Linked DNA regions of Homo sapiens: region 2 is linked to region 1. Evidence: promoter capture Hi-C in 16 types of primary human blood cells and fetal thymus (Javierre and others, 2016). All regions are on one chromosome and are shown on one strand. Each heading gives the region's core, a stretch centred on a gene start or on the middle of the fragment in contact. The rest is flanking DNA. Distances are from core to core; before and after follow the strand shown.

Region 1 (5,389 bases), core at 2,688-5,187:
TGGTCTTTGTCTTTTTTTCTGGCCACTAAAACTCCCCTAGAGAGGAGATTTACGGCAGCTTCACTCCCAGAAATTTCTGCTGTTAGTCGCATAAGGGAAGCTTTGAAACGGCATCTTTCTGCATCTGTTGGCTCTCAAATGTCTTCAGTTCCAAGTAACATTCATGCCAATTCTGGGGGTCTGAGTGTCCCCACATAATACATGTGTTCTCTTGTCTTTTAATGAAGTTTGTGGGAGGCATCTAACTGTAGCCTCCAAAATTTGGCCCATAGGTACTACTGTCCTTATCAAAGACGAGGAAACAAGTTCAGAAAAGTATTAATTGCTCCGAGTTATCTGCTTGGCTAGCTAGGATCAGAGCTCAGTTCTCCATTTAACCCAAAGCCCAGGCTCTTAACCTCTTACAACTGGCGCATCCCCTCTGAACCTCCATTTCCTCCCTGTAAAAGAATAACATCGGCCGGGCGCAGTGGCTCACATCTATAATCCCAGCACTTTGGGAGGCAGAGATGGGCGGATCACGAGGTCAGGAGTTTGAGACCAGCCTGGCCAACATGGTGAAACCCCATCTCTACTAAAAATACAAAACTTAGCTGGGTGTGTTGGTGCCTGTAACCCCAGCTACTCAGGAGACTGAGGCAGGAGAATTGCCTTAACCTGGGAGGCGGAGGTTGTGGTGAGCCAAGATCGTGCCATTGCACTCCAGCCTCGGTGACAGAGCAAGACTCCATCCCCAAAAAAACAAACAACAACAACAAAAAGAGAATAACGTTATATTCAGTTGAACCAAAATGAATTAAATATTAATATTTGTACTTCAAAAACGGTCCAGCTTGGCTGGGCGCAGTGGCTCCCGCCTGTAATCCCAACATTTTGGGAGGCCGAGGCAGGAGGATCATTTGAGGTCAGGAGTTTGAGACCAGCCTGGCCAACATGGTGAAATCCTGTCTCTACTAAAAATACAAAAATTAGCTGGGCAGTAGTAGCGCGTGCCGGTAATCCCAGCTATTCAGGAGGCTGAGGAAGGAGAATTGCTTGAGCTTGGGAGGTGAAAGTTGTGGTGAGCTGAGACTGCACTACTGCACACCAGTCTGGGAGACAGAGTAAGACCCTGTCTCAAAACAAAACAACCAAAAAACCAAAAAGGTCCAGCTTGGGCAACATAGTGAAACTTCGTCTCTACAGAAAATTTTTAAAATACTAGCAGGGCACCGGGCACAGTGGCTCATACCTGTAATCCCAGCACTTTGGGAGGCTGAGGCAGGCGGGTCACTTGTGGTCAGGAGTTTGGGATCAGGCAGGCCAACATGGTGAAACCGTGTCTCTACTAAAAAACAAAAATTAGCTGGGCATGGTGGTAGGCACCAGTAATCCTAGCACTCAGGAGGCTGAGGCATGAGAATTGCCTGAACCCGCAAAGCAGGGGTTGCAGTGAACCAAGATGGCGTCACTGTACTCCAGCCTGGGTGACAGAATAAGACTCCTCAATTAAAAAAAAAAAAAATTAGCTGGGCATGGTGTTGCGGGCCTGTGGTCCCAGGTACTCAGGAGGCTGAGGTGAGAGGATTACTTAAGCCTGGGAGGTTGAGGCTACAGTAAGCCAAGATCACGCCACTATACTCCAGCCTCTGTGACAGAGCCAGACCCTGTCTCAAAAAAATTTTAAAAAGGGCAAATTTTGGCAATTTCACATAGTTCAACCTAGTATAAGGTGGTTGTAATAACTAAATGAGATAAAATGGTGTTAAATTGGAAGTATTATAGTATTTCTGTTAACAACATAGGGCTCCAGAACCAGCTTCCTTGAGTTTAAATCCAGGCTCCACCACTTCCTAGCTATGCAGTCATGGGCAAGTTACTTGACCCAACTGTGCCTCAGCTTCATCCATGATATGGAGATACAGGATAACCAGCCTCTTACGTGCAATTCTGAAATCCAAAAAGCTCTGTAAACCAAAAGTTTGGGGGTAAACTCATTTGGTAGCAAATTTTGACCTGAGGCTATTTATAGTCTATATTCTGTATTCTTTCTACTTAGTATGAATAAGCATGTAAGTTTTACTGCATGTTTGATTTCAGCATGTTCCCCCAGACTCTCTGGGGGTGTTTACGTATGCCGGTGGGGGAAAGAGACCAACTCTCAAATATTATCTCAAACAGTTGGTTTCACTGTGCTTGCTTGGGTAGCACATATACCAAAATTGGAATGACCCCTGCACAGGGATGAAATGCAAATTCGTGAAGCATACTGTATTTTTCTTAGCACATACCACCTTTGGCAATATTCTTTTTTTTTTTTTGAGAGGGAGTCTTGCTCTGTCGCCCAGGCTGGAGTGCAGAGGCGCGATCTCGGCTCACTGCAAGCTCCGCCTCCCGGGTTCACACCATTCTCCTACCTCAGCCTCCCCAGTAGCTGGGACTACAGGCGTGTGCTACCACGCCAGGCTAATTTTTTGTATTTTTAGTAGAGGCGGGGTTTCACTGTGTTAGCCAGGATGGTCTCGATCTCCTGACCTCGTGATCCGCCCACCTCCGCCCCCCCCCCGAAGTGCCGAGTGCTGGGACTACAGGCGTGAGCCACTGCGCCCGGCCCCCGCCTTTTTTTTTTAGATTGATTTTATTACTTGCCTAGCAAAGGAGAACCTTCTGGCAGAACAGTCTCCAAGAACAAGGCAAACAACTAATTTTACATAGGTTTTTACCAATGTACAGCTGTTGATTGTGACTGGTTTCCGGCAATCTGGATTTCACAATCTGGATAAGGGGACAAACAATTGTCTGTCTTCCACTATCTTTCTTGAATTTGAATAGAACCTTTTTATTCTCATAGCCTCTTAGCTTTCTTTCTTTTTTTTTTGAGACGGAGTTTCGCTCTTGTCGCCCAGGCTGGAGTGCAGTGGCGCGACCTTGGCTCACTGCAAACGCTGCCTCCCAGGTTCAAGTTATTCTCCTGCCTCAGCCTCCCAAGTAGCTGGGATTACAGGCGCATGCCACCACGCCCGGCTAATTTTTGGATTTTTAGTAGAGACGGGGGTTTCACCATGTTGACTAGGCTGGTCTTCAACGCCTGACCTCAGGTGATCCGCCCGCCTCGGCATCCCAAAGTGCTGGGATTACAGGCGTGAGCCACTGCGCCCGGCCTCTCATAGTCTCTTAGCTTTCTAAAATTTGAAAAATCCTGTAAAGACACACCTGGGTCAAAGGGCTCAGATAACGGACTGTGGCCCTTAAGTACTTACGTCACAGGTTATTGAGAGGATCGATTTAGTTACCAGATGTAAAATGCTGGGATCAGTGCCTGGCAAAGGAAAACTTTGTACAGCTGCAGGCTTTCACCATACACAACAGCATCGCTAACGAATGCTATTACAATATTCATTTAGCGTTTACCAAGTGCCTACTCTATACAAATCTTGAGAATACAACGTGAAGGTGAACTGCTGACTAAAGTTTGGTCCCTTTCGCTCCGTCTCCTTGCGAAAATGCTCTAACGGCAGGAGGTCACGCGAGCGCTGGACGCGTTTCTCCCCGCGAGCCCCTTTCCGAGGCCTTTCGGGTCCCCCCGGTTATCCCCGCCCGGGCGGTGCGCGCCCCCGCTGTTCCCGCTTCCGCTCCAGAGAGGCAGGGCTTTCCGAGCCTGCTAGCCCCGCGGCCGCAACTAACCCCGGGTCGGAGTGTTCCGGCCCGGCCAGCCCCGCGGCGTGAGGGAAGGGGAGCTCAGCAGTTCCCCGCGCGGGGCCCAGGCGTCGGCGGCAGGGCGGGCCCCTCACCGCCAGCGTGCCAGCCCCGCCCCTACCCACCAGTGTGCCAGCCCCGCCCTTCCCCACGTCGCCGCGCGCCCGGGGGCGGGGCCTGGCGCGCACCGCCCGCGCACGGCGAGGCGCCTGTTGATTGGCCACTGGGGCCCGGGTTCCTCCGGCGGAGCGCGCCTCCCCCCAGATTTCCCGCCAGCAGGAGCCGCGCGGTAGATGCGGTGCTTTTAGGAGCTCCGTCCGACAGAACGGTTGGGCCTTGCCGGCTGTCGGTATGTCGCGACAGAGCACCCTGTACAGCTTCTTCCCCAAGTCTCCGGCGCTGAGTGATGCCAACAAGGCCTCGGCCAGGGCCTCACGCGAAGGCGGCCGTGCCGCCGCTGCCCCCGGGGCCTCTCCTTCCCCAGGCGGGGATGCGGCCTGGAGCGAGGCTGGGCCTGGGCCCAGGCCCTTGGCGCGCTCCGCGTCACCGCCCAAGGCGAAGAACCTCAACGGAGGGCTGCGGAGATCGGTAGCGCCTGCTGCCCCCACCAGGTAGCGGGGTGGGGGTGGGGTCGAAGGCGGGGGCATAGCGGCGGGGCGCTTGGAACCCGGCGAGGGGAGGCTCGCACAGGGGGTTGGGGGGGTGCACGGCCTGGCCCTGGGCTCGGAGGAGGCGGGGCCGCAGAGTTGGCTTGAATGAGTGCAGGGGTCGAGTCTGGAGCATTTGGGGGTGTAGCTTGTAAACAGGGTCGGAGGAGAGAGGCTGTGCAGGAAGAGGGCTGCAGGGGAGACGCGGAGAGTTCGGGCCTTTTGGAGGGAGGAGACGCGTCCCGCCAGGTGGGGGTGCTGGGCTAAGGAAGGGGCGACGCGCGCAGCTCCGGGTGGGGAGGGGGCCTGGGAGGTGGGAGCACTGGGGGTGGGGCGAGAAGGGGAAGGCGCCCGGCCCACTTGGTGGGCGGGGCGGGGGGCGGGGTGGCGGGAAGGAGGAATGCCTGCGGGAGGCCGAACGGGGAGAGTCCGGTGGTGTGGGGTGCGAAAGGAGGTTCCTCGGCCGGCGCGGAGATAGTGAGTTGGGGCTCCAGTAGTCGATCGAGGTAGACACTTAGAGGTAGTTAAGAGCCGCGGTCGCCGAGACGCCTTGGGGACGGTGGGCCTTCGGCCTAGGTGAGGGGCCGCCGAGGGGGTGGGCCACGAGCTGCGAGCGCGGGGGGGTGTGTCACCATGGGGACCGCGGGGCCTAATTGGGCGGGGCGGGGCCGTGGGGAGCCGAAGTGCTGGGATCCGGCTGGGTCCTTCGGTAGGTAGGCTGCACGTGCACCGAGACGAAGATAGAATATTTTGACGTATGTGGAAATTCGTGTCGAGTGGAAAATATTTTATTTTATGAAATAGTGTAATTTTTATGGGGCACCACTGGGCTTTTAGAGGCCTTAATCGGGCGCTGGACAAAGATGTGTGGACGTGAGTGACTCCGGGGAAGCCTGTCGGGAGTTGTCCTCACTTTATGGGCAGTTAAGTGCTTTTTTTTTTTTTTCCTTTTTGAGAGAGAGTTTCGCTCAAGTCCAGGCTGGAGTGCAATGGCGCGATCTCAGCTCACCGCAATCTCCGCGTCCCGGCTTCAAGCGATTCCCCAGCTTCAGCCTCCCGAGTAGTCG
Region 2 (5,422 bases), core at 667-3,166, 1.5 Mb before region 1:
GGGAAATAAGCCTATGGTTAAGGGAGAACTATCTACCAATTTGAACTCATTAAAATACATAAATGTGTCCACTAGAAATGGCTGGCTGGAGAAGCCCAGTACCAAATCACCCCGTTCCTGAAACCCACCAGCCCCATGAAATAGTTCGCTAGAGAGAGATTTGCAATCTTTGAATTCGTTGACTATCAACCTGTATAGGTGCTCCGTGCCCCGAGATCTGAGAAAATGACAAAATACGTCTACTTCCCGGCCGGGCACAGTGACTCACGCCTGTAATCCCAATACTTTGAGAGGCCAAGTTGGGCAGATCACTTGAGGTCAGGAGTTTGAGACCAGCCTGGCCAACATGGTAAAACTCCCGTCTCTACTAAAAATACAAAAATTAGCTGAGGGTGGTGGTGGGCGCCTTTAATTCCAGTTACTCCGGAGGCTGAGCCACAAGAATCGCGGGAAGCGGAGGTTGCAGTGAGTCGAGATGGGGCCACAGCACTCCAGCCTGGGCGACAGAGTGGGACTCAGTCTCAAAAAAAAAAAAAAAGTATTTCCCAATTCTTCGTCAGTTTTTGCCCTCTCCCCACTTCGCCTTCTCCAGGCTCCTGAAAAGTATCTCCCCCAACCCTTTCTGTGTACACGGGGAAAACACGTGTTCATTTTTATTATGGCGCTGAAACCTACCCTTCTCTTCAAATCGCTTCTGTAGATCGTTCTAGTATAAAATGTGGCAAGAGGCTAAAGGGAGAGATATAGACCAGTTCTTTGGCCCTCGCTTTCCAACTTCAAGTTACACCTGTGAAACTCATGGGTCCTTCCACAGCCTTCAAAAACTAAGGGCGTCCCCTGTCCTCTCCCCAGATGTCCCTTCCCCATCGCCGGTAGCGAGTGGGAGACAGCTCAGCGCGGGGCAGGGGAGCACTGGGCCCGGAGATGGAAGGCAGCGTCAAAAGCGCCGCTGGAAAATCCCTGAGCGCTAACCGTTGCCTGTGTGAGCCCTTAAATCTACAAATTTCCAACACCTGTAGCCTTTGGGTTTCCCAGGACTTCCATCGACCCTGGCGGCAGAGAGGGCAGGCCTGAGATGCAGTGACTTGAGGGCACATGGCCAACTCTTGTCACTCCAAGATCACACTGGGGAACCAGACTGACTTCTCCAATTCTGAACTCGCCCCGGCCTCGGGCGGCTCAAAGGGCCTCCTCTGCCGCATCCCCGCCAAAACCAAACCGCCTGGCACAAGCCGGTAAGCAACCACCCTGCTGGGAGAGGGAAGGAAGAGTAGGCGCAGCCCTAGATCAATTTCCTTGCACTGCTTCTCCCAGACGGTCAAGTCAGCTGCGTCCCACCGAAAAGGGCGCATCGCCCACGCCCGAAACGCAGCCGCTGGGGGCCGAGAAATTATCCCCACCTGGCCCGAGGGCCAGGGACGCAGGAGCGCAGCAGCGTGGAGGGGCTCCGCGCTGGCCCGGCGCTGCCCGCGGTCCTGCCCTCGTTCCAAGGGCACGGCGCCGGTACGAGGACACCGACGCTGTGGCGCAACTGCCGTCCCCCGCAGCAATCCCGGAGCCCGGCTCCCGGCCGCCCCTCGGCCCTGCGCAGGCTGCCTCTCCCCGACGCGGAGTCCCACCCCGCTACCCGCCGCCCAGACGACCTCATAAACAAGTCCTCGAAGTGCGGAGGCAGGAGGCGGGGCGCAGCGCGGGGGCAGGAGGCGGGCCAGGGTCAGGGCAGAGGCTGCGGCCGCGCGTCCCCATTGGCCGGGACGCAGTGAGCCGCCCGGAGCTCGGCGCGGGCGGGGCCTGCCGGCGCGTGCCCGCCCACACACCCGCGCCGGTGCCCGCCCCCCGCCCTCCGCGCCCGCCCCGTGCCCGCCCCAAGCCGGCCGACGGAGTTTTTAAAGTGGGCTGCCGGCCGCGGGAGCTTTACACTCGCGAGCGGACCGCCACACGGGTCCGGTGCCCGCTGCGCTTCCGCCCCAGCGCTCCTGAGGCGGCCGTACAATCCTCGGCAGTGTCCTGAGACTGTATGGTCAGCTCAGCCCGGCCTCCGACTCCTTCCGACTCCCAGCATTCGAGCCACTTTTTTTTTTCTTTGAAAACTCAGAAAAGTGACTCCTTTTCCAGGGAAAAAGGAACTTGGGTTCCCTTCTCTCCGTCCTCTTTTCGGGTCTGACAGCCTCCACCCACTCCTTCCCCGGACCCCGCCTCCGCGCGCAGGTTCCTCCCAGTCACCTTTCTCCACCCCCGCCCCCGCACCTAGCCCGCCGCGCGCCACCTTCCACCTGACTGCGCGGGGCGCTCGGGACCTGCGCGCACCTCGGACCTTCACCACCCGCCCGGGCCGCGGGGAGCGGACGAGGGCCACAGCCCCCCACCCGCCAGGGAGCCCAGGTGCTCGGCGTCTGAACGTCTCAAAGGGCCACAGCGACAATGACAGCTGACAAGGAGAAGAAAAGGTAAGCGGGCGTCCGGGCCGATCAGGGGGCCGGTCCGAGGCCAGGGCCGGGCTGCGCGGGGCAGGCGCGACCGAGAGTGGTTGGGAGAAGAGTGCTGAGAGGTCTTCGGAGCTCGAGGCTCGGTTTGGAGGGCTGTGAGGGGGAGAGCATGTGCCCGGTTTGGGGGCGCGGATCAGCAGCTTTGCAGTGGAGACTTCTGCGGCTCGGAGGAGTCGGGGATTTGCGCGCACGGCGAGGCCAGGAGGCCGAGGGAGATGGCCTGGAGGTCGGAGGTGCTTCCGCGGTGCCTTTGAAAATCTCCCAGCCGCCCCGCAGCAGATTACCGTGGCCACCGGCGCTTGGAAATGTTTGTGGGTGCATGTCCTCGACTTTCTCTGGTCTCTCATTTTGGGGCAGCATCCACGTCTCTATTTTTCTCTGGATTCGCGGAGTCCTTCCAAATGCGCTCCTGTGCCCGCGCCGCGGCCCAAGTGGGCAAAGGGGGGCGGGAGGCGGAGAGCGGCTCAGGGACACGATCCTACCGAGGAGCCAGGACCCTTCAGAGCGCCCCGCTGCCGGGCTCCAGACCCCACCGAAGGTTGGAGAACCCACTTCCTCGTGCCGCACCTTGACTCTGGGGAGAGTAGGTAGTGAGTGACCTGGATTGCCCTGCGGGGGCAGATGGTTCGGTGTGTAGGAAGCGGACGGCAACACTGGATGTCCCTGGCAGGTCCGGGTGTCTGTCTCCGAAGAGGACAGAGAAGGGCAGCCACGATCTGCCCGCCTGCCCTCGCGAGCCTCTCGGCACTGGGTGAGAGGCAACTCTGGCCATTTCTTGCTGCCCTCTCGCCCTCTCCCGGCCGCTCCCAGTCCAGCCGGGCCCGGCGCTACCCGAGCGAGGGTTCGAGCCCTCTGCGCGGCCGCGCAGAAGCAGGCAGGGCCTCAACTTCTGCAAATGTGTGCGGCTCGCCGCCTGTCCCCTTTCTCCTCCTGTCTCCACCCGTGCGGCCCCAGTGGCCTGGAGCTTCCAGCCCCGCGCTTGGCCGCGGCTTGGCGAGGCTATGCTGCGGGAAGCTGGAATCCAACGCGCGGCCGGCTGAACCGCCTGAGCCGCGGGAAACCAGCGGCGGAGCGGCGGTATAGAGGTGCGAGGATGAGGAGGACCGACTCGCTAAGGGAGGGAGGTGACTGGCCGGGAGGGCTCACTGCCGAGGTTGATTTGCTCTTGTTCCAACTTCCACTACGGGACTGGAGCCAGAAACCGTGTATCCTCCGGTCGAAAGCAGCGGTTCCCACCTCGGGGCACCGATAAGGATTTGATAAACGGGAGCGAATCGCGCCTGTCCTGGCTCGGCGCCCGGGCCCTTCACTGCGGGATCGCTAGGGGAGGGGATTGGGCCCTGCTCCCCTTTCCTGGCCGTAGTCCCCCCTTTCTCGTCACCGTCGCGCCCTCAGACCCAAGACAAGTGAGGGAGCCCTGAGACTGCAGCCGGCACATTCCCAGGGCCCTCGGAGCAGTCCTGGGGTTCCATGTCTTTTGAAGGCAGCAGAGCAAGGAAAAGACTCTTAAGATTCCAGTGCGTTTTGTAAAAACCAATCATAATGCTAATAATGACTGAACCATCGAAAAGCAAAGTTATAGACAGCGCCTGCAGACGCTTTCGGGTCCGGAGCCGGGGAGGGAACTTGTGTATTTTACAACTGCGATGCCTATCGGGAATGTGGCAATCGCCGAGGTGGGGCCTGACAGTAATCTTGACAAATGTGTGAAGTGTCAGCTCCTCCTGCGCTCCTTAGCGCCGGGTTTTGTGCAGTTTTGTACCGTATATACCGAGAAACTTGGGAGCAGGGGAAAAATGATTTCGACACACCCAGCTACAGTACCTGGTTCGTTAGCGGACTGTTGGAAAGAGAGAAGAAGCGGGAATGGGAGCGGGAAGAACGTTGCGTAATTAGACTCCCAATTATTGGCGAGAGCGGCCGCTTTAAGAACCACTGTGGGGACTGCCTGCGAAACGCCTTGGAGGCCGCTGTGTGAGCTGCGGCTCCGGGCTGGTGGCCACGCGAGGGTGTCCGCCCTCTTCGACCTGCCTGGATTTTTGTGCTGCAGAATGGCAGGGCAAACAGCGTGTCCTTCACCATCTAGAGCCCCTTAAGGGGTTGTCCAATTCCTATTGGGCTAATCAGTTTGAGACTCATTTACTTTTCGTGCCTGGGTCTGTTTGCTGGCTGCAGGCTTCTTTAGGGACCAAGATGTAATTAAAATATGTGAACCAATACATTGAAAGTTGGTGTTGTCATGTAAGTGACTGCTGTAGCTTTTCTGAGTGCCTCACAAGGGCGATGTGACAGTGAGGGGGCTCTCTGCTGATGATTCTGCCCACTAGTTCTTACATTTTGTGTTTCTTTGGTTTAGCAGAGCAGTTTCTTCCCCCAAATGCAATATGGGCAGAACATTTGGAATATTCGTTCTAACAATGGCCCGTCAAGAAGTGGGCAGATGATTTTGTCCCAGAATGTTCACACGTCGATAAATATGTTAATGTTTAATAATAAAGAGTTTGCTTTCTAAATGTTAGTTGGCTGGGTGTCCTTGATAGTACCAGTTTTGGTGGTAGTGGGCATTTGCGGTGACATCACAGATGTCAGAAACTGAAGCCTGGTGGGTGGGGGTACTGCACTTTCACTCACCTTTTTGTGCACGCATCTATCAGGAATGCCTGAGTCCTTTCACTGGGAAAAAAATGTGGAAATTCTGGGATTCACGGGGTTTGAGGAGTGGTTCAGGCAAATGTAAATGAGATCCTTGGATAATCAGGGATCAAAGTCCAGTCCCAAAGCCAGACCTAGGTCCAGACACCTTCCCAGAGTGCTTATACAGTAGTGCTCAGTACAGGGCTAGCGTGGAAGGGGAATTGGAGACACCTGGATCTCCAATCTCCCCCTCCTTCTGACAGCTGGACTTAGTTGTTCCTCTTCTAAAATCAAATCAAACT

Evidence for each region. Contacts are between HindIII fragments. The CHiCAGO score rates a contact against its expected background, and 5 or more counts as called.
Region 2: the fragment with the promoter of EPAS1 here is called in contact with the fragment with the promoter of MSH6 in region 1 in 1 of 17 cell types (neutrophils); the score reaches 6.7 in neutrophils.

What each region holds. Positions count from the first base shown.
Region 1 is chr2:47,779,208-47,784,596 of GRCh38, forward strand. MSH6 (mutS homolog 6) reads left to right here and starts at 3,938. Exons shown (of 10, transcript NM_000179.3): 1 at 3,938-4,286. The coding sequence starts at 4,027. RefSeq lists silencers at 2,179-2,360, 3,511-3,990, 4,271-4,430, 4,631-4,720 and an enhancer at 3,311-3,380. The HindIII fragment of the contact is 5,497 bases long and covers 99-5,389 here.
Region 2 is chr2:46,295,491-46,300,912 of GRCh38, forward strand. EPAS1 (endothelial PAS domain protein 1) reads left to right here and starts at 1,917. Exons shown (of 16, transcript NM_001430.5): 1 at 1,917-2,447. The coding sequence starts at 2,422. RefSeq lists silencers at 1,371-1,950, 2,181-2,510. The HindIII fragment of the contact is 15,577 bases long and covers 1-5,422 here.